7 separate regions of the Homo sapiens genome follow, and regions 1, 2, 4, 5, 6 and 7 are each linked to region 3. The links are contacts of gene promoters, found by promoter capture Hi-C in blood cells and fetal thymus (Javierre and others, 2016). All regions are on one chromosome and are shown on one strand. Each heading gives the region's core, a stretch centred on a gene start or on the middle of the fragment in contact. The rest is flanking DNA. Distances are from core to core; before and after follow the strand shown. Region 1 overlaps C1QTNF7-AS1 (C1QTNF7 antisense RNA 1). Region 2 overlaps C1QTNF7-AS1 (C1QTNF7 antisense RNA 1). Region 3 holds the start of BOD1L1 (biorientation of chromosomes in cell division 1 like 1). Region 4 overlaps CPEB2 (cytoplasmic polyadenylation element binding protein 2). Region 5 overlaps C1QTNF7-AS1 (C1QTNF7 antisense RNA 1). Region 6 overlaps CPEB2 (cytoplasmic polyadenylation element binding protein 2). Region 7 overlaps CPEB2 (cytoplasmic polyadenylation element binding protein 2).

The links. Contacts are between HindIII fragments. The CHiCAGO score rates a contact against its expected background, and 5 or more counts as called.
Region 1: a contact is called between a fragment that was not itself captured here and the fragment with the promoter of BOD1L1 in region 3, in 2 of 17 cell types (endothelial precursors and megakaryocytes). The highest score is 6.3, in endothelial precursors.
Region 2: a contact is called between a fragment that was not itself captured here and the fragment with the promoter of BOD1L1 in region 3, in 1 of 17 cell types (monocytes). The highest score is 5.3, in monocytes.
Region 4: a contact is called between a fragment that was not itself captured here and the fragment with the promoter of BOD1L1 in region 3, in 3 of 17 cell types (monocytes, neutrophils and total B cells). The highest score is 6.7, in monocytes.
Region 5: a contact is called between a fragment that was not itself captured here and the fragment with the promoter of BOD1L1 in region 3, in 1 of 17 cell types (monocytes). The highest score is 5.6, in monocytes.
Region 6: a contact is called between a fragment that was not itself captured here and the fragment with the promoter of BOD1L1 in region 3, in 7 of 17 cell types (monocytes, total B cells, neutrophils and 4 more). The highest score is 8.6, in monocytes.
Region 7: a contact is called between a fragment that was not itself captured here and the fragment with the promoter of BOD1L1 in region 3, in 9 of 17 cell types (naive B cells, activated CD4 T cells, total B cells and 6 more). The highest score is 8.8, in naive B cells.

The regions. Positions count from the first base shown.
Region 1 is chr4:15,148,177-15,151,878 of GRCh38, reverse strand. The region is part of intron 2 of C1QTNF7-AS1 (C1QTNF7 antisense RNA 1); the gene reads left to right. Among named protein-coding and RNA genes, the nearest start is that of CPEB2, 150 kb to the right of the region's middle. RefSeq lists enhancers at 1,671-1,810, 946-1,902, 868-2,067, 1,903-2,859. The HindIII fragment of the contact is 249 bases long and covers 2,048-2,296 here.
Region 2 is chr4:15,201,994-15,206,289 of GRCh38, reverse strand. The region is part of intron 2 of C1QTNF7-AS1 (C1QTNF7 antisense RNA 1); the gene reads left to right. Among named protein-coding and RNA genes, the nearest start is that of CPEB2, 200 kb to the right of the region's middle. The HindIII fragment of the contact is 2,796 bases long and covers 405-3,200 here.
Region 3 is chr4:13,625,877-13,629,566 of GRCh38, reverse strand. It overlaps BOD1L1 (biorientation of chromosomes in cell division 1 like 1), which reads left to right and starts at 1,842. Exons shown (of 26, transcript NM_148894.3): 1 at 1,842-2,222. The coding sequence starts at 1,980. MIR5091 (microRNA 5091) reads right to left here and starts at 1,702; the gene lies at 1,610-1,702. RefSeq lists enhancers at 952-1,682, 1,686-1,845, 1,683-2,413 and a silencer at 1,986-2,185. The HindIII fragment of the contact is 7,220 bases long and covers 1-3,592 here.
Region 4 is chr4:15,067,566-15,071,610 of GRCh38, reverse strand. It overlaps CPEB2 (cytoplasmic polyadenylation element binding protein 2), which reads right to left. Exons shown (of 12, transcript NM_001177382.2): 12 at 1,460-4,045. The region is part of intron 2 of C1QTNF7-AS1 (C1QTNF7 antisense RNA 1); the gene reads left to right. Among named protein-coding and RNA genes, the nearest start is that of CPEB2, 67 kb to the right of the region's middle. The HindIII fragment of the contact is 2,128 bases long and covers 422-2,549 here.
Region 5 is chr4:15,165,194-15,169,465 of GRCh38, reverse strand. The region is part of intron 2 of C1QTNF7-AS1 (C1QTNF7 antisense RNA 1); the gene reads left to right. Among named protein-coding and RNA genes, the nearest start is that of CPEB2, 160 kb to the right of the region's middle. The HindIII fragment of the contact is 3,486 bases long and covers 1-3,027 here.
Region 6 is chr4:15,050,163-15,053,916 of GRCh38, reverse strand. It overlaps CPEB2 (cytoplasmic polyadenylation element binding protein 2), which reads right to left. Exons shown (of 12, transcript NM_001177382.2): 7 at 1,333-1,503. All of the region lies in intron 2 of C1QTNF7-AS1 (C1QTNF7 antisense RNA 1), which reads left to right. Among named protein-coding and RNA genes, the nearest start is that of CPEB2, 50 kb to the right of the region's middle. The HindIII fragment of the contact is 1,112 bases long and covers 1,153-2,264 here.
Region 7 is chr4:15,027,435-15,031,702 of GRCh38, reverse strand. The region is part of intron 4 of CPEB2 (cytoplasmic polyadenylation element binding protein 2); the gene reads right to left. All of the region lies in intron 2 of C1QTNF7-AS1 (C1QTNF7 antisense RNA 1), which reads left to right. Among named protein-coding and RNA genes, the nearest start is that of CPEB2, 27 kb to the right of the region's middle. The HindIII fragment of the contact is 499 bases long and covers 2,502-3,000 here.

The sequences.
Region 1 (3,702 bases), core at 923-3,422, 1.5 Mb before region 3:
GATGAAGACTCTTAGGCTTGGAGTCAGAAAACCCAGCTCTGATCCAACTTTTCTTGCTGTGTGACCTTGGGCAGGTAACATCTTCTCTGAGACACAGTTTTCTCCAAATGGAGTGGACAATGTATGCCCTGAGTCTTGTTCAGGCTTGTGGTGAGGAGCAAAAGGATAAAAGGGCTGAGCGTGCTTGGTAGATGAATGTACTGATTGGAAACACAAAGAACATCCGTGACCATTTATTTATTTCTAAATCACTCATTAATCTTTGCTAGTTCTTGTTGTGTTTACTATTATGAATGAATGTTAGGTGTTGCATCCCACCTTCTATTTGAAAGACCATTCTTGGCAAATGTTCAAAACAACATTTATGAGTTAATAACAGATTCGAGTTATTCCCTTCAGGATTAGATAAGTTATGCTAAAAAATAAATTCAGGGGCTTCAAAACAACAAAGGTTTACCTCCTGGTCACATTATATATTCATTGCAAAGTTTCCTTCTTGCAATCACTTGGGGCCTCAGGTTGATGGAGCAGCCACCATCTCCCATGTTGGGTCACCATAAGGGAGGAAATGCTGCTCTGGGCATCTCACCCCTGTAATTGAATGCTCAACTGAAGTGACATCACTCACTTCCGCTCACATCTTATTGGCCAGAGCTGACCACATGGCCCTCTCCCAACCTCACAGAACAAGGGAGGGCCATTCTACTGTGGGCCTGGAAGGCAGAGAACTAGAAGTTTTTAGAGAGCAGCATTTTCAATAACCACATGCACCCTCCATGGATTTGCAGTGGTAGAGCATGTTGACTGGTAGTACTGATGGAGACCACCTTTATTTGCATTATGTAACAGACTTTTATGGAGCACATCCTAGATGTCAGGGATGATGCCCAGCATGGGAGATGCAAAGTCATAGATAAGTTCTCGGTCCTAAAATGCCACACAAGAAATATGCACTGGATGTTCTGTGAGCTTCAACCAGCCACTTCATCCAGCCTGAGGAAAGGGAAATAGATTCCTGGAGGTGGTGAGTCCTACAGGAGCAGTCGAGCATGCAGAGGCTGGAAAAGAAAGGTGTTCTGGGCAATCAGGACAGCATGAGCCAGCCAAGGCATGGGTGATGCCAGCTCTGCATGTGTAGGGCCCTCCAAGCAGTATTTGCTGCTGGAGCATCAAATGGGAGATGAGATGGTCAAGAAGAGTGAACCTGGGTGGAAGGAGAACTGGTTAGAAGGTAGTGATGGCATCCAGGGAAGAGAGGGTGAGTCCTGTAATTGGGCAGTGAAGGGGATGGAGGAAGGGAGCCAGGCTCCAGAAACCATGAAATGCTGCCTTCGGCTCTGAGCTCCCGAGAAGCAGCAGAGCAGAGGGAGGGAATAACATGCAGCCAGAAGGACAGACCTGGATGCTGTGTGCACCTGCTTGGAAGCCACAACTCTTTGGTGTAAGCCCTGCTTCCCCACTTCATGGCTGTGTTACCCTGGACAAGTTATTTGCCTTCTCTGTGCTTTAGTGTCCCCATCTCAAAAGTAGGGATAATAATAGAAAACGCATAAGTCTGAGGTTATGTATATTAATACGTACAGAGGACAGGGACTGTGGTATCTGGCTGGGCTAAAGAAGTGTGGACTATCTTTTGTAGCCTCTGCAGGGGTTCCTGCCTCTCCCAGCCAGGCCAAGCCTGCTCTGCCAGCTGAAATGTCAACATGGGCGGTTCCTGTCTGAAGTCCCCACAGACAAAGGATGCTTTGCACCCAGGGGACCTGAGCAGTGTCCTTTTCTGTTTGTCTCACAGAGGCCTTCCTTTTCTGGCCGCAGCTGACCCGAGGGTGGGCGGACCCCGCAGCAGGCTCTTTTCTGCTGAGTCATCCTGCCTGGCCTGCCTGGCTGGAGTGACATAGCAGGAGGAGCTGGCTCCCCTGCAGGCTGAATCTGTCCTGGGGGTGGGGTGGGGAGGGTGGTAACATTTTATTTAGGGGGATCAAAAAGCCTCCAGATGAAACAATGGTGGTTTTTTTTTAATGGGTATGGTGGGCTGTTTGCCAAAGCTTGGCCTGCCAAATAGTGCTGGTAAAGGAGGGACTGTTGTCACTGGGTTTTTGGCCATGAATTTGCATCCTAGCAGGAGGCAGGAGGCAGCAGCCTAGGAAGGCCTGGTCTTATTTTTATCGTGTAAGAATGAGGTACCCTTTGGTAGAGTTTGTGAGAATCTGTTTCACTTCCAGAGCTACGCATGCTGAGTAATAATGATTGCTGACTTTTTTGAGCACTTGGTGTATGACAGCCTCTCTACCAAGCTTTCAAAGCATTCTTTCATTCAGTCCTTACCAGCTTGTGAACTAGGTTCTCTTCTTATTTCTGTTTAACCCACGAGGGAACTGACTTTCAGAGCGGTTAAGTCAGTTGTGTGAGGTCACGCAGCAGAAGGTGGCAGAGCAGGCAGTCTGATGCGGGGGCACAATCTCTCGATGGGTACACCTTGCAGAGGGCTGTAGGAGTTACTGGGGGCGTGTGCAGCAGGGAGTCTCACACGCAGTGGGTGTACAAGAAATAGCCTCCATCCCTTTTATCACTATTATTTATTCCTTCTAAACAAACAAACAGCAACCATTCAACATGGCGATGTGATTTTGAAGGGATGATTTTGGTCCTGCTTGAGGACATGTCTTGTGTCTTGACTCCACATCACTAGGACATGGGCAGTCTGCACACAGAGACCTCAGGAATGTGACACCCCGGCCCCCTACTTCTATTGCTTTCAGACTGTCTTGGGTTGACCTTCTTTAGTAGCAGGATGACCTTCACTCTCCATATCTTTATTTCATGGTTCAGGACTCAAATGTGTAGGTTGTAGAAATTTTACAAATTCCAGACAGGCTTACCACATTTAAAATACCACTGACAAGTGTGTAATGCCTACCTTTTTAACTCCATGTAGGTCAGCTACATAGTACTCTCAGGGAGTAAGAACTTTCCTAAAGCAACTCGGAACTGGGCCATTTTGCTTACTTGCTGGCGGCCTGATAATACCAGGGCTTCTCGGTGTTGCTAAGAGTTTCCAAGGAGAGAGATTTGCTTCTCTCCCATTTTCCCCTTCCAGGGCACCAGAATGAGCTCGCTGCTGGAGCCTAGGGCACGTTCTTCACTTGGTCACCATCAAAATAAAATTACCAAGCACGCAGGTACTGACGAAGCCTGTCACTACACAAAATTAATCATTTTAAAAAGTAAATGACCCAGTTTCCTGTGGTGTGTGTTTTTGGGGCCCAGGGAGTGCCCTTCCCCCCTCAAGTGAATTGGAGATGCCTCAGATGATGTCAGCTCACTCTGCAAGCGACAGAGAGATGGGTTGGCAAGATCTGCAGCATGAGCCTGGGATCCGGCTGCCATTTGGGCTGCTGTCGGCATCACTGTGGAGACCATTAATCTTCAACTTACGACGACTGAGCCTTCTCGGGGCATTGAGTTTTCTTGTTCTGTTTTGTTCAGCGTGGCATTCAAGATTCCTTCACAGAAATCTGTGTCGGGGCAGGAAAATGCTATGTGAATTATGTCCTTGTGAAGTCACCATCTGGCCAATATTCATCTTGCTTAGTGAAATATCAAGGACATCCTTCGGCACAGATGCTGCGGGGCAAGAACATAGCACACAAGTGACTGCAGTCATAAACCAACACGCAATCAAGTGTAATTAATGCACCTGGT
Region 2 (4,296 bases), core at 553-3,052, 1.6 Mb before region 3:
AATTTGGGCTTCAAAGTTGTATATATGACATTTAAAGCCGTTAGACTGGATGAGATCACCTAAGGAGAGTAGAGGTTGAGAAGGGAAAGGGGGCCTGGGAAATGCTCTAGGCACTTCAAGCCATTGGGAAGAAATTAACAACAACAACAATAACAAAACTGCAAAACTGGTTAGATGGAAGTCTGAAGAAAGTGAGGACATGGACACCAGAAGAAGCTGGTGAAAATATAGTATCTCTAAAGATGGTAGAGAATAACAACAATAGAACAAGGGAGGGTGTACTTGGCTGAATGCTGCTGTGAAGTCAAGTGCCAGAAGGATAGAGAAATGGTCAGTGAATTTGGCAACTCAAGTCACTGCTGGCTTTGACAAGGGTGGTCTCAATAGTGTTGGGGAAGGAAGCTTGCATTGAAAGGAGAAGTTTGGGGGATCAACAGGAGATACCAATTGCATCTACCTCTTTGGGAGCTTTGCTTGAAGAGAAGCAGATTAATGAGCAGTGCTTGAAAGGAGATAGGTAGTCATGGAGTGTTATTTTATCTTTAAAATTGGTGGATAGTCAAGATATTTGTGTGTTGATAGGGATGATTCATAGTAACTTTTCTAAAATATTTGTTGCATGATTGGATTATAATAGAGTTTTCAAAATAAAATGGAGAGGAGACACACACATACACACACAAAGCAAAACTTCTTGAGATGAACTAGCAGAAGGGAAGAAGCCTATTAAAGTCCATTTGGTTTCACTTTCTCAAATTCACCCTTTGCAGTGGTCCCAAAACATGATTGTGGAATCCCAAAGCTCTGACCTTGAATTGGGAAAACACTCTGTTAAAAAAAAAAAAGTGATATCTCTAGAGATGGTAGAAAGTAATGACAACTATAAAGAAAGTGGCCAGGCACGGTGGCTCATGCCTGTAATCCAAGCACTTTGGGAGGCAGAGGTGGGTGGATCACCTGAGGTTAGGAGTTCGAGACCAGCCTGGCCAACAAGGTAAAATCCTGTCTCTATTAAAAATACAAACTTGGCCTGTGTTGTGGCGTGCACCTGTAGTCCCAGCTACTTAGGAGGCTGAGACAAGAGAATCGCTTGAACTCAGGAGGTGGAAGAGCCAAGATTGTGCCACTACACTCCAGCCTGGGTGATAAAGTGAGAAGCTATCGAAGAAGAAGAAAAAGAAGAGGAAGAGGAAGAGAAAGAGAATGATGGTGATGATAATAGCAACTAACATTTATGGAGCACTTAACAAAATGCCACCATTTTAGTCTAAGCATGTAGCATGTCTTATTTCAGTCAATCTTCATAATAAGACTTGGGAGAGAGGTACTATTATTACTCTTATTTACAAGTTCCTTTATTGGGGCTTGGGTATGGAAACAACTTGCTCAAGAACTCATAGCTAATAACTGGCAGAGCTTGGGTTCAAGCCCCAATTTATCTAATTCCAGATCCTCTTACTTCTTCTTCATGGGAAAGAAGTGGTGACAAGGAATGGACCAAAGAGTGCCTTCCTAAAAGTATTCATTTTTCACAAGAGTGATAAAAAGGAGACCCCACAAAGAAAGCAAGCCGAGCCTTGAAAAGCAGCTTTGGAAAATTAACTTCCATCTTCCCAGGCAAGCAACATCCTTCATCTATTTATTTTTTTTTTCCCATAGAACAGAAGAATGTATACCACTCATCATTACTCTTCCTGACAGCAGAAGATTACATGCTGGCTTGACTGAGTTTCTGTCAAGGAGAATTTATTGCAATTTCATTTTTTTTTTTAATTTAAGTTTTAGGGTACATGTGCACATTGTGCAGGTTAGTTACATATGTATACATGTGCCATGCTGGTGCGCTGCACCCACTAACTCGTCATCTAGCATTAGGTATATCTCCCAATGCTATCACTCCCCCCTCCCCACCACAGTCCCCAGAGTGTGATATTCCCCTTCCTGTGTCCATGTGATCTCATTGTTCAATTCCCACCTATGAGTGAGAATATGCGGTGTTTGGTTTTTTGTTCTTGCGATAGTTTACTGAGAATGATGATTTCCAATTTCATCCATGTCCCTACAAAGGACATGAACTCATCATTTTTTATGGCTGCATAGTATTCCATGGTGTATATGTGCCACATTTTCGTAATCCAGTCTATCATTGTTGGACATTTGGGTTGGTTCCAAGTCTTTGCTATTGTGAATAATGCCGCAATAAACATAAGTGTGCATGTGTCTTTATAGCAGCATGATTTATAGTCATTTGGGTATATACCCAGTAATGGGATGGCTGGGTCAAATGGTATTTCTAGTTCTAGATCCCTGACAAAGATGGTTATTAAAAGGCATGGCTATTTTGCATTTTATATGCAAGTCCTAAAAATATGTCAGGTTTGATCTTCTTCTACAAAACCACCTTGTATAAACTTCCTGCTTCTCTTTCTCTTCTCCCAGCTCTCAAGTTCTCCTGTCCTTTGCACGTCACTGCTGTTGCCAGATCTCTCCCTGGGCAGCCCAGCTTGCAATGGCCTTGTCCCACATTTTGTCTTGCCCTGCTTTTTGTCTGCAAAGTCGAATCTTTATTGTATTTTAAGCAGAACTTAGAATGCTTCCTCTCCACAAATCCTTGTCAAGTGCCTGACTGGAGACCACCAAATAGCTCTAAAGCCATCGTGACCTGTCGATCAGCCACTCTGAGGAAATGAAAGCCAAGATTCCCAGAACATGATAATATAACTACTGAAATAAAAAAAGGTCCTGTATGTGGAGTAATTATTGCTTGTTAAAAGCTGGCAGATGGGCTAAGTGCTTTGTGTATGTTGCCTGTGACTGCAAAACAATGCCTCATTTACCTTTATGCCCAAATTAGAACAGTTTGAGTCCTACTAACATGATTTCTGGGAAGTAGCCCTTTGCAAGGCATCTGGCTGTATCTCAGAGGTCCGAGGTGCTCAGGGACATGAACTTTGAGTTCCTCCACCCATAGTTCTTATTATGCTCCCATGCTACTTCCTCTACTGCTGATGGCTGGTGGGATGGCCACTCTTCTGTGAAGAGGGGTAGCTAGTAGTTATTCTTTCTACCAATTTTGCATCGGGGGATTGTGGCATTGTTCTTCCTCTTGCTACTCCATCTGCAGCACAAGATATTACCACATATAATACCTAAAAAAAAAAAACTGGATTTGGGGTGTGGAACAGGAGTGCATTGAAGCTTCAGGGATAATGGAAGGGCTGTGCACTGTGGGTAATAACGTATCATTCCTCCCAGCTGGCTCAATCTCATCCCAGGGGCTTTTCTCAGACCCCCTCCCTTCGTATCTGATGGTGTGTTCTCCATGTGCTGGGCCTTTCAGCCAGCTTCCCACCACCACAAACTCTCCAGGCATCTTCATACTTTGGGTTCTGGGCTAAACTGATTCTCACCTAGTGTGGGACTCATGCAGGTCCTTGTTTCCCTTCTCAGCATCAGCATCTTCCAGGATGAGTGATAGCAAGGACCTTAGTTCTCTGTAAGGAAAACCACTATCCACAGAGCCATAGCCTGGCCCAGTGACTCAGAGGAGACAATCCCACAATTGTCTAACATTGGTACATCACCAAAAGATAGAGTTCTTCCAAGGAAAATAAACTCACAGTGTTGAGGAGGGAGCTCCTTTCCCCACCTTCATGCCTTCATGCTTCCATGTGGAGAGAGCTCCACTGAGTGACACTCTTGGCTCTCACCTTGTTCCCTCTCCAGGGAAGGAGTAATGACTTGTCTGATAAGTGTGTTTACTAGGCTCATTCGTCTCCTCCGTCACTGCATATTTGCTGAAGTGAACATTCAGGAACAAGTCTTCATAGAACCTGAGGTCATTCAGCCCTGCCAATGTCTGTGGGGTGGTACATTTGTTTACTTCAGGGGTGAAGTTTTAATAAGAAATATTTTCATTTCTATTTACTTGATTCCTAAGGTTTTCTACTACTTGATTTCTAAACTCAAAAAATGGGAAAGGGGAGTGTCACTTTAGCTCTCTAAACCAAAATCTCAGTGTTGAAGAACAAAGCCCAAGGTTGGTAGAGCTGTGCCCACCTCAGTTCACTTCCTGTTCCCTCTCCTGGGGTCTGATTATATCCATGGACATGTACATTATGTTTGTGGTTCCTTGCAGGTATGGAGAAGGACTCAGTATAGTCCTGTGCTCAGAAAACACAGTACTTGACTCAAGTAGGCCCCCATAATGCTTCTTTATTACTTAAGCAAAATAAGCCATCTCCATTCCACAGAATGCACTGAGACTATGTTGGGTGACTTTCCTCTCACATACAC
Region 3 (3,690 bases), core at 593-3,092:
AACATTCTTAACAAACCTTTTTTTTTCTTGTTTTTGAGAAGGGTCTCACTCTGTTGCTCAACCTGGAGTGTACTGGCCCCATCATGGCTCACTGCAGACTTGACTTCTTGGGCTCGGGTGATCCTCCCACCTAATCCTCCCAAGTAGGTAGGACTACAGGTGCACGCCACTACACCGCCTAATTTCTTTTATTTTTTTGTAGAGGTGGGGTCTTGCCATGTTGCCCAGGCTGGTCTTGAACTCTGGACTCAACCGATCCTCCCGCCTCAGCCTCCCAAAGTGCTAGGATTACAGGCGTGAGACACTGTGCCCAGTGACAAAGATTTTGAACTTGAATGAGCTAAATCTGCAGTTGCAAATTTTGACAAAAACATAATTTAACCACCTGATAACAAAAATAAATCTTATCCAAAACTATTTATGAAAATGAAAAATGTTTAGATATTCTCCAAACTTTCAGTATATCAGGTGAAAGGTACACCTCATTGAAAAAATCAGGTCTAATTCATAGTCATTTGGTATCTTGGTAAAACCTATCTGGTATATTTCCCAGAATCTGAAAGAGTGAAAAAATAAGGATTAAGTAAACAAATCCTTTGGCAAGCCAGGTGGTTTTCAGCTCTTTGCTTTCCATAAAATAGAAGGAGGGCCTAATTGAAGTCAGCTCATAGATAATCAAATCTAATTTTTTGAGGTCAAGAATTGAATGATATTGCTACAACAAAACTCTTCCATTCCTAGGCACAGTACTTGTTTATATGAACAAGGTTTCTCAGGGCACACAGCTATAAAAATTACAAATAGGAATAGAATTGATGCTCAACCCTTCTTTTCCTACTAATAAGATATATTCAGCCACAGATGTAGGAACTTTAAAAAGCAACAATATGCATTTTTCAATAAAGTTACACACACTATTTAGTAATTATGAAATTTTCTAATATTTATGTTGCTTTGACCACGTACTAATAATAATTTCAAAGATGATGCAGTCCAAAAGCAGGTGATTTGCTAGCTGTGTAATCTTACTCAACATACTTAATTTATCTGAGCCTTGGTTCCCTGATTTGCAAACTGGGGACAGTAATCAGACCTAGCTCTTAGTGTTTGTCCAAAGATTAAATGCGTTAATACATGTAAAAGCACTTAACGCCACGCTTGGTACATAATATGTGCTATAGATGTTTTACCTGCTATAATCATAGTAATCAATAGCAAATCTCCTAAAAATAAAAGCCTGTCGATTTGTCTTCACAGATAGGAAGAACGGGCTGGAGGGATCGGATCTAATCCACAGGCACACTGCCAGAAACAAGGGACCCCCACGGGGAAATGGTATGTGCAGGCAGAAGAGAGACAGAAGGAACTTGGAGCTACCTGCTGGGACAAGAATAGTGCAGGATCACAGGCTAAGAACGAAGAGGGTTGGGCGAAGTTAGAATGAGCAGATCCACGTAGGGTTCGCATTACAAATGTCTATGGATCTCTATGCACTGCTCCGGGAAACTGGAGCAAGAGAGGCAGGCCTAAAATGCCGTCGCGGATGAAGCGGGGCCAGAAACGCACTGCCCCCGCTCAGACCTAGGGCCCCAGGTGTCGCGCGGGTCGAAGCCCTAACCTCCAGGGACTCCAGACCCCTGCCGGTGACCTAAACCCCACAACCCGCGACCAGCACAGTCTTGTCGTCTCCGTCGCCACAGTCGCCGCCACTTCCGGCGCAGCTCGGCCTCGCGAGGGCGCTTGCGCCCGGCGACGGTCGAAACTGGCTCTTCGCGGCCTCCGTCGCCGGACTTTCGTCAATGTTGTCACCGTCTTTTCCTCCTTTCCCCCAGTTCCCTTTCACTTCCGGGGTTGCTCTGGATCCGCTGGTTCCGTAACAACATCCCGTTGGCTTCCCTCAGGCGGCGGGACCAGTGCAGCCGCCGCCTCCCAGGATCGTCCGCCGGTCAGGGCCCTTGCCCTCCCCGGCACAGGCCACCATGGCCACCAACCCACAGCCGCAGCCGCCTCCTCCGGCGCCGCCGCCTCCCCCGCCGCAGCCGCAGCCGCAGCCACCGCCGCCGCCGCCGGGCCCCGGGGCTGGCCCCGGCGCGGGCGGGGCGGGCGGCGCGGGTGCGGGCGCCGGGGACCCGCAGCTCGTGGCCATGATCGTGAACCACCTCAAGAGCCAGGGGCTCTTCGACCAGTTCCGCAGAGACTGCCTGGCCGACGTGGACACCAAGGTTAGGAGCGCGCCGGGTTTGGGGGTCTGCGAGGGAAGGGGAGGACCCAAGGGCGCGCTTCTTTTGCAGTGGCTTCCTCTTGGAGCTGCAGCTGTGTGCCACGGACTGTGCAAAGCACAGAGTGTTCATTCCTTAGCGTGTCCTTTGGTTCGTTTTACCGACTAGTGTTTAAGTACCTACTACGTGCCAGTCATGGTTTCGGCACAGTGATTACCCCGGTCTGATGAGCAAGACTAAGGCATTGTTCTTACAGGAACTGGTTTGGAAACAGTGGCGCTAACAGTAGCCAGTTTTGTATTCATTCTCATATCTGATGATTTTACTTTGTATCGAAGTTATGTTTGCCTTCTTTCTTGAAGGTTTCTGGGCGGTAAGGGCCTTTATCCTTTGGAGAAATGACTAAATGGTAATTGAATCAAGTTATGTGTAATATGCTTTGCTGGACATCGTGGGGGTGGGAGCGCAAAGATAAGGAGGCAAACCTGAGACAGGACTTTAGTATTGTTTCTAGCAGTGATTGCCTGATTTAGGTAACTTAGGCCATGTCACCATTCTAAGGTAAGAAGGGACAGGAAGGTGGGGTAGAGAGAACCGAGTCATTCAGTGGAGAAAAGATGCAGGAGAGGTGACAGCAGATACTGAAGTGGAGAAAGGACAGGAAAGAGAGCAGATTCAGGAGAGTAATGTAGAGAAGGGAAAGGACAGCAACAAGGTTCCCTGTCCAGAAAGAGAGGCTGGAAAGGGGAAGGGATTTTGTACCAAATGTCAGAGTGAAAGGGACATTAGCAGGAACAAGTAAACTTAGCTGGATTGGCAAAGAATTAGCCAAAGACACCAGGAAAGAGCAGTCAGTGAGATGGATGGAAAACCACAGTACAGTCTAGAATTCTGGAAGCAGAAAGCATGTTGGAAAATTAACTGGTTTGTAGGGGTTGTTTTTGTCTGCTTGTTAAATCTGGTTGGGTCCATTGGATTGGAGTTTTGATGAAATGAGGGTTTCCTTTTTTTTTTTTTTTTTTTTTTTTGAGACAGAGTCTCGCCCTGTCGCCAGGCTGGAATGCAATGGCGTGATCTCGGCTCACTGCAACCTCCGCCTCCCGGGTTCAAGCGACTCTCCTGTCTCAGCCTCCCAAGTAGCTGGGATTACAAGCGCGTGCCACCACGCCCTGCTAATTTTTGTATTTTTAGTAGACACAAGGTTTCACCGTGTTGGCCAGGATGGTCTCGATCTCCTGACCTCGTGATTCGCCCAGTAGGCATGAGCCACCGCGCCCGGTCGAGGGTTTTCTCATAGTATGTTTAGTTGTTCTGAGGAGCTTTGTATCTTTGAGAAATGCATGTTTACAACATCCACAGTTTCTTCTAAAGCTTTCAGGTGAACTGCACACAGTTCCACTATGTCTTCTGGGGAAACTCTTGAATATCCTGGTACATCTTCCTTTATAAGGACTCATACTGGGCCCACTAT
Region 4 (4,045 bases), core at 236-2,735, 1.4 Mb before region 3:
CTAACTATACACTAGAGCGATATTTTTTACCTATGTAGTATCCCATGTCTTCATGTTTCCTGGGTATTTTATTATCATTCCTTCTTTTTGGTGAAATAGATCTTTAAGTAACTCTTTTAGAAAGGATTTGTGAGTGCTAATCTTTGTATCTTTTAATTCTTTGTTCATGGAAAAATTTAAGTCAAATGCTATCCCCTATGTAAAAGTTCTTAAGTAATTTCATTTCAAGGAAATGAAATTACTTAAGAAGAATATTCCTTCCTTTCATGCTTTATACATGTTTATGAAAGTGTATTTTATCTTTTATTAGCATACTGCATTGCATTTGAGTTAGCCTGGCCTTTCACCTTCAAGGCTATGAGACCTTGTGAGCAAAGATTTGACAAAGTCGGTGTTCAGTACTAAGTTGGTATTCAAAGCTTATTCTTTTCTTAAATAACCGAGGGAAAGGGGAGCATAAGAAAATGATCTTTATGTCAGTAGCAAGGGAATTAAGACACTGTGAAATTCCTGTTGTCTTAGATAGGCCAGAATGTGGAGGCGGCTCTTTAGTTTTATTATGAAAGAGGACTTTGTTGAGGAAAGAGAAAATAGATTCCAAATAGAAAAATGGCAGCATATGCTAAACAAGATACAGATATGTAGAGATGCATGATTTGCTTGGAGGACATGGGTGACAGTGACACAATATGAAGGGCATACAATGGCAAGATTAGCCCATTTAAGGAGTTTCTATGGTGTCTTGTAGAAGATGAGGAAACATTAAGTTTTACCCTTTCTGACATACCTATGTCCTTATAGGTAAAACAAAACATTTGGTTATGATCAGTGATCTTTCATTTTCTGAAAATGCAATGGAATCCTTTCCTCCTTCTGCCCAGTGACTGCATACCAATTTTTAGGTAGAACTTCAGCTTTGTTAAAGTTAAAAGTAGAGCTGTTCTAGTTATAATTAGGATGAGGAACCTAGATTCCAGGCTCCTTACTCTATACTTCTTTTCCTTCTCCCTCCCTCTTCAAAGTAGACACTGAAAAATCCACACAGGCTGTGCAAAGAACAAGTAAAACACTACAAGTGATTCCCAACTAGAGGGTATCTGAGAAAGTATCATGAAAACTGTGCATTTAGCAACATGATTAACAGTTCCTCATTTTTTGAATGCAGCATCAACTTAGATATGGCAATATTAATTATAAGTGATGACTGTAACACAGAAATTTCTATGATATATGGGGGATGAGGGTGGGAGAACTGACACAAGAGGACTCAGGGCTGAAATACTGAGAGATACTAGACAACATGGTCTCCAAGGCTTCTCCTCTATCCTTGTACTGAAATGTAGTTTGGCCTGGGCATCATAATATATTTATGTCACTAAGCTCTCTCTCTAAATAAGATCTTACTGGTGTTTTTGAATATTTTACTTGATTTGAACCGAAGAATAAGATTCCACAACTATGCCAATAACTTAATAGTTTATTAGTCAGTCAACAATATTACAAATATTTAAAAATTACTTAATATAAATAGTTGGCAGCAAACTATTCCATTACAGAGTTAAATTACCAGTACAACAGACAGACTGGAGATTTAGACACCTGGAAGATAACAATAAAATAAACTAAAATATTTAACGAAAAATTTAAGCTGAAGGTGTTTACCTAGTGTCCATAAAAGCATGGGTTCTCTTTTTATTTAGAAAAAAATAAAAAACGGCTTTAACACCCCATTAGGAATATAAAATAAAATCAACTGAAAATATTAATTTGCATATCAAAGAACCATTTATAATTACAATCCAAACACTCCATAAACCACTTGTGCGATTCTATACAGAAACTGGGAATTAGAAACTAGTTGCTTTAATATTACAAAGATTTCAGCTCCAAAAATAATTCAACATAAAATAAACTTTAGCAATTAGTGTCATAAAATTATATATTTCCACATAAAAATACAAAATAATATTAATGACAAGAATATGAAAAATTATTCCAAGTATTTTACTACTATTAAAATAAAATAAAACCCAAAAAAACAAAATAGAAATATGCATGAAAAAAGTCTCTCCTTTTGTTAGCAAAACACTATCCAAAATAACTACAATCATTTACATCAGTACAAAGATTTCTGGATTTAAAAAATAGTTGCAATGACAAAAGGGGTATCTTTTCTGACAGTAAAAAATGACACTGTGGATAAAATCTGCAAAATATGCAATGAAAAAAATAAATTTGCATTAAAAAGGTTTACACTGTTTTTTTTTATACAAACATTAGAAACAGTATTGCACATCACAACACAGAATCGAGGTTAGTCAGCCTTCCAAAATGTGTTATATTCAAGTTTTGTAGCATCTTTGAGGAGAGGCTCTGTGCAGCCAGATGCAACAGGGATAAAATATCAAGTGTTTTCCATACACAAATATATAAATGCTAAATGTTTCCTTCTTAACAAAAAGTGTGGATTTTTAAAGTATTTTTTTTTCCTCCACAGTCATACTTTTGGGCAGCAATATGAATATTTAGGGAACACAAGTGAAGAAGCTTTTAAAATACAAAAATACAATCAAAATTAATAATTTTCTACAAAAATAGTAAAATAAATATGATCTGTAAATTAAAAAAAAACCTCCAATACAGTGTTTAAAAGTTAGAAAATAAGAATGTAGTACATAAAGGGCAAAAACAAAACAAAACAAAAGAGGTAGGGGTGAGGTGGGAAAGGAACAAAACATTAGACTAATAAGCTTTACTTGTACAGAAATGAAGGTAAAACAAACCATACATTTCTGTTATTTTTACCCGTGGCAAAAAGGGTGTTCTAGTACATTCCCCTTCATTCCAAATATTTATTTCTGTTTAAGAAGGGAAAATGATTTTCAACATCTCCAATTATTTTAATTATATAATTTGTGTTCATTATTTAATACATGAAAAGGCTCTTCAATTTTAAACATTAAGCAGAAATTATGAAAATAAAGTTTAAAAATCTGCGAAATTAAATATCTAAATAATTAACATTGCAAAACTACTGATTTCTTCTCTAAATTCCAAAAATTGAGGTATAGCAAAGGAGATGTCATCAGTCAAAAAAAGTGTGCCATAAAATAGCTGACTGTTGGAAAAATCTCTCACAGAGATATAAAAATAGTGCATAACAAATGTCAAAATGGATCAAGGTTTGGCAGGGTTAAGGTTAGAAAAGAATACTCCAAAAAATCTGGAGGATCATGGTTAAGTAACAAATAGGGAACACTGACAAATAAATTAGTAAAAAGCTCTTCTGAAAACAGCATCAACTTTAAACATTAAAAACTTGAACCACAACCACAATAAAACAGCAGAGTTAGACATGAACCACATATTTTTACAGTACAAAAAAGCACACCACAGACAACCAATATTAAGATCAACACTTTGCTCACATGAAGGATTGTCCCAAGGGTTTGCTATAAGGCAACACCCTTGTAATTTTCTCTCTTTAGAGTCAAAAATCTTAGTTCTGCATTTTTAAAAAACATTTACCATTGTTGGGTGCTTTGCTTAGATTGCAGAGTAACTCTTACATTAAAATATAGGGGCTAGTTGCATTAAAAATGCTCTAAAGAGAAAAAATATCACTAATGATATTCTAATAGTGTTCAGTACCAAGAGAAACTCATTAACTACTGCATGTTTCCATGCCACTTTCTCAAAACACCCCAAAAAACCTGCAAGCAAAGTCATTACCAAAATTCCTTCATGAAAATTTTCAAAAAAGCAATTCTCAACTATTAAGAACAATGTTCCATGCAACAGTGACCCCAGTTTAGACAGAAGACCCCAATATTTATAGGTTAAACACATAAGCAAGTTCAAGCCAGATTTCACCATTGTCTTATAAAGGTAAAATTTAATTTTATGCAACTAGCCATCTGTATATTTCCCCTTCTCCATTTTGACTTTACTTAGGGTTTACTAAAGTTTTGCATTCTTCTAAAAAATTCAGATTTTTAAATATGGGTTTCTTATGGGTCTTACATTTGGTGACTGGTTAGCAGTG
Region 5 (4,272 bases), core at 35-2,534, 1.5 Mb before region 3:
AAACTGAGGTCTTTCCATCTGGTACCCTGGAAACACTCAGAGGGACTGTGACCAACATAGCTCTGCATTCCACGGGAGAGTCTTCTCATCATTGTTGCAGAGAAAAGTCTTCTGTTCCTGGAGGAAACCTAGAGCAGGAGACCAGGAGGTCCTTTAGTCTAATTCTCTCCACATTAAGGACCAAAATCGTATAAACCTCTTTATATAAGTGAATGCCCCGGTCCCAGTTCACACTGAGGGTGATGCAAGATTATGAGTAGAGAGGCCTCTTGCTTGGGTATTTTGAAAACAAAAAGTTCCCTGGATGATTCCAGTACACTCTTATAGTAAAAAATATAATATATATATTTAAAAACAGAATGCATCCACTTTTTCTTGAGTTTGGTGTCTGTGTGTGTGTGTGTGTGTGTGTGTTTAGGAGTGAAAGTGTGGAGGTGAGTTCTAACTTGTGCTGCTCATTGTTCTGGGGAAGCAGCTGGGAGAGATGCTGAATCCTGGAATAAGCTGATCTGACAAATTTCCTTACTCATTCTTTTAAGACCTGGTTTAGACATATCCTTTCTGAAGGCTTTTCTGATTCACCCAAGCAGACTTGATCCTTTTCCTCTTTTGACCCCACTCTACCACTAGCAACTTATTAAGGGGCTTCCAATCTTGTAATTAAATGCTTATCTGTCTCCTCCAGTCCATAGTCTTCCTTCATGGGCTGGCTTCATACTTTTCTCTTTAACCCCCATCTTCTGTAAATGTTTGCTGATTAAATGAGGTGGAATGGGCACGGGAATAGTTCCCAACCTAGGGACTGCTGATCCTCCAGACATTCACCATAGCAATAACTAGGATGCATAAGCCATTATTAATCTTAAACATTTTTAATGAATATTGCACATCTACTCTCAAGAGCTTAGCTCCAGCTGTGTGAAATGCCCCTTTACTTGGTGGTTAGTTTATCAACTCTGTGCTAATACAGCTGTCAGATAAGATATCATTGGCTACACGTAGATCAATAATGAAATTATTACTTAGTCAATAGGATGTTCTTTCTAAGTAGACAAAATCATTGGTAACCTGATGTCTTTGTAGGGAAAATAAAAACAATAAAAAGAAAAAGATAACTGGAGCTTTGGGGGACATTGTCTCACAAAACCTGTCACTGAATAAGGGTTAGAGTTGATAGGAATAGTTGGCTTTGCTGACTGTCTAAAACAAAGCCAGGCAGAGGACATTTCTGGATTCAGAGAACAATGGAGGTTCCTTGATTTCAAAACTTACCACACCCTCCCAAAAGGAAAACAAAGAATAACAAGGAGAAAAAGCAGACAAAACGACACATGACCATGTCTTTTGTTAGTAGGAGACAGAAGCATCACAACCTCTAACTTACCTGTAAGTAGAGAAAAAGGTGAATTCCAATAGAGCCCCTGCCTGTGGGTGAGAGATTAGAAAAGGGGAGGCTTGAGAGTCTTCATAAAATGTGCAAACAAAATAAACCCAGAAACGAAAGTCCAACATTAAAATCCAAAGTACAGAATGTATCCTGTGACCTGAAATTGTCAGTACTGGACACAGGGCAGAGAGAGAAGAGAGGGAAGAGAGGGAAGAGCTGCAGAGAGAGAAGAGCTGGTGCCCCTGGGAGACAAACCAATGAAGAACATCAGCAGGGGAGATAAATTACTCTCCAAGAGAAATATACCCTCCTTCACCCCATCCCACCCCAACTTAGGGCCCAAATCATCCATAAAAGAAACTACCTAGAAGAGGGAAGAACGCGAAGAAAGGGAAGCTCTTAAATTAGGAAGCCTGTTCATGAAACGAATAAGAATCAAGAAAATCAAGCATATATATATATATTTATATATATATATATATATATATATATATGTATATATATAAAATAATATATATAATAATATATATCTCATATAATATTTATATGAGATTGTTATAAAAAATTAGAAAATGAGAATCAAAGCATTTCTGTTAACAGAAATTCTCCCCAGGAAATTTAGCCAAAAATCAGAAGAAAACTCTAAAACAAGTGTAAAGGAACACTCCAAAGTGAATCAATTTACAGATATGAAAAAACACATTGAATCAGAAATATGAAAACTAGGAACAGAAATAGACCCCCAAAAAAGCACACACAACAACTACCCAGAAAGAACCCCAAAGAGTAGGTTTTCAAAATAATTTTTAATAAAGATAGGGTCTTGCTATGTTGCTTAGGCTGAACTCAGAGTCCTGGGCTCAAGTGATTCTGCTGCTCATCCTCCTAAGTAGCTGGGACTGCAGGTGGGTGCCACCCAGCTTCCCTGATCTGATCACTATACTTTATGTGTATCAAAATATCACTGTGCATCCCATGAATATGTGCAATAACTGTGTTGATTTTTAAAAAATTAAAAGAATGCAAACAATTTTTTAAAACCCAGAAAATAATAAAATGAGTGAAAATGAATTGGGAAGGGACTTGGGAAAGAAATAGGGCAAAAGATAAAAGTTCATCAGTAATGAAGACTGAAGAGGAGGATAGAATCAAATAAAATGGAAAGAATGTTGACAAAAATAGATCACCAATCAAAATAATGATGACATGAAGAACAAAGTAAAAAAGGTCAGAGGGAAACTGGTTGAAATGACATAAAATTGGAAAAGGGTGTCTAACATACCTATGATTGGCATCCCCAAATAAGAAAATAAATAGAACTAATATTTTAAAAAGTGAAATTCCAGAAAAGTTCCAGAACTAAAAGGAAAACTGAATTTACACATAGACAGGGCCTAAAGGGAACTAGGAAAAAATGGAGTAATTGATTCTGGGACATGGTCTAGTAAAATCAATAGACATTAAAGGAAAAGAAAAAATCCTCAAGTCCTCCAGGCACAAAGATAGAATAACTTAGAAAGGCAAGATAATTAGTTTGTCATCAGACTTCTTTAAAACAACATGAAAAGCAAGGCAATAGCAGAGTTGCATTCTCTGTTAGGGAATGAGCTTCAATCAACCAAAAGATGTCTGGGAAAGCTTTGCCAAAAGTACTAATAAAAAATAATATGTAGACATTACATGTTCTCACAAATAAGAACGAACACAACTTTAAAAATGAGAGGAGACTTCAACTTCTACAAAAGTGAAGAGGACACATTTTCCTATATTTCTACCACTGTGTGAAGCTAAAAATCTGAACATTACATGTAAAATGAACATAAGAAGGCTTGGAAAGGTGAAGAGAAGAAAATAGACTTCTAGAGACTGACAAAAGGCCCTGAATTGGAAAGGTGCACCGAAACATGCCAGCACTAGAGATAAATCAAAACAGAATTCTAAAAAAAGTTCAAGTAACCTACAGGAAGGCAGAAAAAGCAAAGCTGGAAAACAGAAGAAATAAGCAGAGAACAAAAAACAATATGGCAGACTTCAGCTTTATTACATCAATAATTGAAGGCAACACCTTCAAAATGGCAAACTATAGATGGAGGACAAATTACTGATGGCCAGTGTTTTGGGATTTAGGGAGGGATGGGAGTAGAGGTGGCAATACAGAAGTAGCCCAAGGGAGATCTCTGTGGTAATGGAATGTCTGTGTTTTGATCACAGTGGTGGTTACACAAATCTGCCATTGTGATAAGACAACATAGAATTATATAAACATGTTATACCAATGTCAATTTCTGGTTTGATACTATACTATACAATTTTGTCATCTGTAACTATTGTGGGAAACTGAAGTGTACATAGGACCACTCTGTCCCATCTTTGCAACCTCTGTGAATCTAGAATTATCTTTAAATAAAAAATTATAAAATAAGTAACAATATTAAAATAGGAGGAGAAGACAGAGAAATAGTAAAAAGCAGAATAAATCATTTAGGTGTAAGTAGAAGAATTTTTTTGAACTGAAAAGATAATAAAGAAGGGTAAGTAGGAAAATAGAGAATTAGTAGAATATAAAAAGTATTGATACCAATAAAAACACTATGCTAAAAAGAAAATTTTTGTGAAAACCAAAAGTAAAAAAAGGAGAACACATCAAATAGAGAAGAAACACAGTAAATGTAATGAAATGTACACATGTATCAAAACATAAAATAGTCAAAATTGAGACCAAACCAGTCAGTCCTATCAATAAACATGAAGGGATTTAGCATATCTATTTTTTAAGTATGCAGCATTTCAAATTGGTTTATAAAGCAAAACCCAACTCAATACCATATATGAGAGACACTCTTTAAATGAATGAATCAAAAGAACTATAAATGAAGGGATGGACA
Region 6 (3,754 bases), core at 459-2,958, 1.4 Mb before region 3:
TGCATTGGTTAGAATACTCAATTCCATGTGAATTTTAAAATTTTATATAACATTGTATGGATACTAATGACTTTATAGTACACCAAACCACAAATAGCACTGGATTGAAAAAAATGCCAACATATATAAATAAAATCTATTACTGCTTCACAAATAAAATCATTTTATTATAGGAAAAAAGGTCTGCTAAAACAAGACTTGAATAACTACAATGTTGAAAAAATATACAAGGGTCTGATACATGCCTGGTAGTTTCACTGAAATCCACATAGGTTACATCCAATTGCTATGTCTTACGTTATTTCATTACATAGAAAGCTTATGAAGATCAATACTTAGAATTAAGTTTGTGGATATCTGAATCATAACTAAAAAATTTCCTAAAATGTAAGAATGAGTGATACATTTCCCATAACCTCACAAATATAGCTTAATATTTTAAGTCTTCAATTAATTTTCTTTTGTTATCACATACAATTACTAGTGTTTGTGAAACCCTAATTTCCTATTCATGTTCTGTTTCCATTTCCCTTTCGGGTTTAATAGCCTCTTTCTTCCCTGTTTCTAAGAGCACATTTATCCTTAAAGAAATTAAACTTTTGGCCGGGTATGGTGGCTCATGCCTGTAATCCCAGCACTTTGGGAGGCTAAAGTGGGCGGATCATGAGGTCAGGAGATCAAAACCATTCTGGCTAACACAGTGAAACCCCGTCTCACCTAAAAATACAACAAATTAGCGGGGCATGGTGGCGGGCGCCTGTAGTCCCAGCTACTCAGGAGGCTGAGGCAGGAGAATCGCTTGAACCCGGGAAGTGGAGTTTGCAGCGAGCCGAGATTGCGCCACTGCACTCCAGCCTGGAAGACAGAGCGAGACTCCACCTCAAAAAAAAAAATAAATAAATAAATAAAAATAAAAATAAACTTTTGATTACCAAGCATTGCAGATATTATCTTATGGTTGGTTCCATTTATTTCAGTGTATGTGTGCATGCACACATTATGGTGATACAAAAAGCTTTAAGTTTTATATACCTAAATATATTCTATATTTTAAAAACAAGTAGAATATGACCTAGGTCATGAAAATCTTATTTACAAAAAATGCTCACAGTTACAAATATGATAAGATCTAAAGTGAAAAATAAAAAAGCTTTTGTTCAACTACTTTCATATTTCAACAGGTGATAAAGTATTTTAAAAGAAGAAAATGCATTCTAATTCTGAAAATCTCTAGGTGGTAAAAACTTTCATAGTCCATTCACATTAAATTTCATATCTTTTTGTTTTTGTTAAAGCCCAAATCACCATGTTAATAAATATCTTAATAAATACCTTCATCAATATCTGGAGGAAGACCACCAACAAAAACTTTTCGAGAGAAGCGTTCTATTCGCTCTCCATTTTGGTGAGCTGAATAACAGGTGGGTGAATTTAAAACTCCAACTTGATCACTGTGACCATCATCAAGCAAGCCATCATCTATTGGAAAGAGGGAAGAACGACCTAGAATAAAGAACAAATACAACTTGAATCTCAGATCTGAGAAAATGATAAATTTAAGCATAAAAATACCAATGACAAATTCAAAGACTTAAAAATGAAGGTGATGCAGGTGAACATAAAAATTAAGAGAAATTTAAATAGCATGTGGTTTTAATTACCTGGATTCAAGAAAGAAGCAATCTAAAGAGTGACTTAGAAATAAACATAGTCATATGTCAACAATTAAACTGCAAAAGAGATACTAGATCACTTCAACTTGTTATGAGCAAGAACTTGTTATAAGCAAGAACCTAATGTATGTGGACAGTTAGAATGGATATATAACAGGAGAAACTTTTCAGAAACTGGTGGCAGAAAGGAAATGACACAGACTAAATAGATAAGGGGATATAATTTATAAAAAATCACTTGTAGACTACAGTAAGTAAGGATGAGGAGAACAAGTAATACTTGTATACAAGGTCTTCACCTAATTTATTACACGTGTGCCAATTACATGAAACAGTAGACGGAGCTTCCGCACATGTGCAAAATAGAAAAGGTACCCCCTCTAGCACGTTAGTGCCCATTTGAGCCCACATTTCAGGAGGTAATCCTTATATAGGGCACATCCTGCACAATCCTCTGAAGTAATCCCCACTCTGTGGGTAATCCCTCCACAAAACTTAAATGCCCTGATATACTCCCTGGCTGTCAAGGAATGTACATTTAGAAAGATAAGATCTATATATGTAACCATGGTACACATCCATAAGAAAGCTTCAAAGTGCTCAGAGGACATATTCTGGAGGAAAGGAGTCAAATAAAAGGATGATTTCCTAAATCTCTAAGTGAAATTAAATAGCATTTGGGATAAAAAGAGAAAAATAGCAGTACATAGTGAGGCATTAGAAAGAGGAGAATATCTATAGGTGGAAATATTTACAGGAACATGGTTTTCAGTAAATTTTCCTTTTTTTCCAAGTGAAAGGAGAAACATAAGAAAATGTAGGAAAAATTGAACTTACTTGAGAAATAAGGAATAGTCAAGGTTGGCTGAAATATGTTGGAAACAAGGAGAGTAAAAGCCAGAAAAGCCCTTTGAGGCTAGAGTATTTAGCATTGAATGACAGGCTAACGAGACATTTAGTAGGTGGTGAAGATAATAAACTAGATACAGGGATTCAATCAAGATTATAACTTTTTCTATGCATTAGGGAGACTTAGTCAATATGGATAAGGTAGTTGAAAATGAGCAGATCAGAAGCTGTGCAAAAAATCCACAAAGGATGGATGGCAGTCACAAGCAGATAGGAAACAAAATAGGGAGAAAGAATGAAAAAGGAGAGATCTAAGGAAGACTTTAGAAAATGATAAAACCATTAACTGATATAAGGACAGTTAAGACCAGAAACTGGTATAAGAAAGGAAAATAATTTAAGCTTTAGATGTAAAGTTTTATATGCTGTTAGGATGTTCAGAAGCAAATGTATAGTAGGAAGCTGAAAAGGAAGTGGAGAAAAGAAATGTCATATTTCTGAGAAAATAATTTGGAGTCAACTCCATGGGTTATAGTTTAAGGTCCTTTATAACATCAATGATAAACACTCCAGCGAGAAATGATGAGGACAGTTCCTTGGGAAACTTACAAGGAAGAAGCAGAACATTCAAGGAGTTAGAGAAAGGAGTGGTAAGAAAAGTGGGAGGGCAGCCAAAATATCATGGTAATAGAAGCACCAAAAAACCAATAAAAGAACGAAAGAGCAATTAAGTAACAATGTGAGATATTAAGATAATTACTTTTAATAAACAGTTGTTTTTGAGGACATACATGATCTGTGAAGGTAGCTGTTTCAGGAAAGTTGGGTAGGAGTCACATTGCATGTATTTAGAGTTTTATTACGTATAGAGATCAAATGAAGAGAAGTATGTTAGAGAAGGAAAAACAGTAAGAATATGGACAAGTTGTTTTTCTTTCAGTATTAACTGAAGGATTTTTTTGGATAGGAGACAATGCATATAATCTATAGCAGCGATCCCCAACCTTTTCGGCACCAGGGACCAGTTTTGTGGACAACAATTTTTCCACAGCAGGGGGATGATTTTGGGATGAAAATGTTCCACCTCAGATCATCAGGCATTAGATTCTCATAAGGAGCACACAACCTAGATCCTTCACACATGCAGTTCACAATAGGGTTCACGCTCCTGTGAGAATCTAATGCTACTGCTGATCTGACAGGAGGTGGAGCTCAGGCAGGCAGCAATGCTC
Region 7 (4,268 bases), core at 1,502-4,001, 1.4 Mb before region 3:
GAGATCTAAGTTAACTATGGAATATTTTGATTTCAGACTCAACACAGGTAAAATAAGTGTTATCAAAAGGATTATCTACCATCTCTTATTTACTCCTGCATTTTATGCAGCATGACATGAGTTAACTAAATGACCTCTTAAATAAAGTTGTCATACTCTAAAACATACAAGTAAATTTCTTGTTGTGATACCTTGGTATGAGTGAGAAATAGAAGCATACATATGGGAAGTACACAATCAACAGCCAGGAAGCACAGCTTTCCTAAACTGCACTTCAGTAACACGGAACATTACTTTGAAGTATTATAGCTTATTTTGGAAATATGCCTATTTCTAAACATCTTGCTGCAGATGGCCAAATTTGGAGAACAGTTTAAGGCCATGAATAAATTACTGTTATTTCTGACTTAAGATTTAAAAAAAAAAAACAAACTCCTACAAAATGGCAACCTGTATCACTGTTCAGCATAATAAGTTAATTAAATCTACGATACTGACAGTGTGTAGGATGCAGAGCATGTAAACATGAGTGGGACATAGTCTTATGATGTGGTAGGGGAGATAGACACAAATATACAATTTCAATAAAATATGCTAGGTGCTAAAAGAGTTATGTATAGAATGCTATATAAAAAAACACAACAGAGTATATAGTAATCAGGCCCAGGGATTAAGGCAAGACTTCCTGGGAAAGTAAATTAAGCAAAGCCTTAACATGAAGCCTAGTTCCACCTTGAAAGATCCTCAACTTTCAATTGTCACATAATTACTCTAATAGGTTCCTGTTCATTTATTTATCCCAAGATACAGGTAATAAAATAGTTTCACTGCTAATAGTCTTTTGATATTATGGCTCTGAATAGACTTTTAAAAGGCACACTTTTTGTGGAAAGTTTAAAAAACATAACTATTTGCAAAGGAACATATATTGTATACATATGTATACATATTATAAATACTACAGCTCGCTACCTAAGAAAATCTCTCAATGTAAGTAATAACATACTCCAAAATGAAATAAGCAAATTTAGACTCATTTTTAAAGATGAGTCTTTTTCTCTACCACAGTGGAAACATTAATGCATCTTCATAGGTTAACTTTTAAAGTTAAGTTTTACTTAGGGTATTATTAAAAGTACTTTCGCTAAAAACCTGCCAATTGATAGTAAGAACTAACAGCATTTGAGGCTATACTCTGAGCCAGGAGCTTTTCTATGTTCTTTACAACCAATTACTTAATCCTAAGAACGATCCTATGAGTTAGGTATTATTATCTTCCCATTTTAAGATGACAACACTATATCACAAAAAGTTAAATAGGTAAGTTGCCCAAGGTTATACCACTGGCAGGTAGCACTGGCAGAACCTGAACCTAAGCAGTTTGGCTCCATACTCTTAATCGCTATCTTAATAATTACTTTATATTGACAACATAAAGGTATACATGGTTGGTTGTAGGACAATTTTATCTCTTAAAAAATTCACAGAATATTCTATAGTATATTTCATAATTTAAGATTTAATATAGAAAAAATAGAAAAAAAACCACATTACTATAAAACTAATTTCTCCTTATTGTTTAAAAGACCTGTGGTGCAGTGACTGATAGATGTACACTAATAACTACCTGTTCCTGTCAATAATAGGGTCATCAAAGCTAGACAGATACAGAGCTTCCCAGAGTAAAAAACAAAAAACCAAAAAACTACATACATAGCCCAGCCTTCTTGTAGGTAAGTGTACCCCTGCATGTAAGATCTGGCCAATGGGATATAAAGTGAAAGTGGTACGTGCAATTTCTGGGAAGTACTGTATCCTTAAAAGGGAAGACCTTCCTTTTCTCTTTCTTGCTTGCTGAAATGCTGATGTGATAGCTAAAGTGAAGAGACCATATTAGACCATAAGGCAAAAACTGTGTTTTCAGGATAATAGAAGAATGAGATAAAAAGGAGCTTCAATCCATGAAAATCACCATACTACTCTAGAAGTGTTAATGTTTCTGGTAAGGGAAACAAACTTCTATCTTACTCAAGCCACTTAGGAGTTTTCTGTTGTCCCTAATGAACCTAAGCTTACAAACAAAGTCATCTAGTAATAAACCTGGGCAAATTAAATTTTAGGTAACCAGGCAATTGCTTATTAATTATTGTGAAAATATGATAATTTCATAATGGTTTAATATATCAATAAAGAGTATACACTAGCTCTTGACACGGCTCCTTTCACATTAAGATACTATGAAATTTAAAATAAGTAATTTAAAAAATATATGTATTTTTGGGTATCAGTGAATAACTAGAGGATCTATCGTATCTTAAAAATTTTCTTATTCGTCTATTACGATTTTAAATAGTAATTTGTATATAACATATACAGTCGGCCCTCTGTGTCTGGGGCTTCTGCATTCATGGGATTCAACCAAGAAATTATATTGAAAATATAATTCCTGATCAAAAATACTCAGGAAAAAAAAATTCCAAAATGTTCCAGAAAGCAAAGCTTGAATCTGATGTGCACCAAGTATGATACGACATTGAATCCGCACAAATGTGATGTCTAGGCACTTAGGTATTATAAGTAATCTAGAGACGATTTAAAGTACACAACAAGATGTGCACAGGTTATAGGCAAAAACTACATCATTTTACATAAGGGACTTGAGCATTGCCGATCTTGGTATCTCTGGGTGGTCCTGGAACTAGCCCCAGTGGTTACCAAGTGACAACTGTATAAAAAAGCCTTACTTCATGTTAGCCACTTTAAATGTATTATCTGAGCAACTAAAAATACTAAGAAATATGACAACTGTATAAAACTTATCACTTCTTTAGAGAAATTACCAGATTACATTTGGAACAAATATCTGGTCCCTGATTCTCTACCATTTTTGCTACACTGATCTCTGCTGTTCCTCAAACATGCCAGGTAATCCCTTTTCAGGATCTTCCTACTTCCTTTTTTTTCTGCTTGAAATACATTTGCCCAGATACGACCAAAGCTTGCACCTCTCACTTCATTCAGGTCTTTAAGAGATAGCATGACAGACTATCCTGTCTAAAATAGCAGCTTCTTTCTCTATCCCCTTGATAGTATATTTTTTCTGCATAGTACTGATTATCATCTAACATTTTCTGTCTCTATACTTCTTTAAAACAGAAGATCCATGAAGGCAGTAACTTAGTCTCTCTTACTCTCTAGCATATAAAACAAAGCGTAGCATATAATAGGCTCTCAAATATTTGTTGAATGGATAAATCAAATATTTCATTCTACTATGTAAACTATGGACTGAATCAAAAACACAAATACCTTAACATGTGTTTGTATGTGTGGCATAGGGAGGATATTCTCTAAGAAAATGAAAAAAAAAAATCATAGAACAAGACTTTTTTTTCAGCTTATTTCTAAATCTCTTACATATTGAAGTTGTGGGGAGAGATATTGCAAAAGTCCTGCTTATTGCTCTTTGCCAAGATAAATTTTTCCCTTCTCTAAACTATTTTTTCTTTAATGAGTTAATAGAGGAAATGAACTCCAAAGCCCTAATATTCAGTTGATGATGCTAACTCACTCTTCAGTGATGAGAACATAGCTAAAGAACAATGCCATGTGCTCTGCCAATTGTTTCTAAAAGAAAAATAAACATTTAAATCACATTAGAATCATAAAGAGTTTAGGTTAGAATTAGCAACAGATCAAAAGGGAGACACTATGGTGCAGTGGTTAAACGCACAAACTCAAAGCTACCAAGTTCCACCACTTACTAGCAGTTGAAATGCAGACAATTATTAAGAATAAGCCATAGTCATCCAACTGTAAAATAAGGGTAAATATCTACCTCTTAGTCATGCAAATTAAATGAGTTAATACATATATGTAGAGTCCTCAAGAACAATGCTTAGCTGTATCAACTGTTCAATAAATGATATGTATGGTATGTTATATACTGTATGTGTTTATTAAACACACAATACACACATACCCTTAATAGAAGATATCTAATACTTCTTAATTAAGTGCTTTAAATAAAGCATTGCCCCAACTCATTTGACAGACTCTTCCAATATTGTTTTCATAATCTACATTTTACCTTTACTTCCAAATCCAATTAGGAAAAAAAGGTTCATTTGAAGTCTGGTAAAATCCACTTAGAATGTGGTCATTACCAACCTTGAATAACTCCAATCTCTGCTCAGATCCAAGGGGCAGGACAGTCATTCCTGACCACACTCCCAAATTTCAATGCATGCCTCATAAAAGCCTAAGAA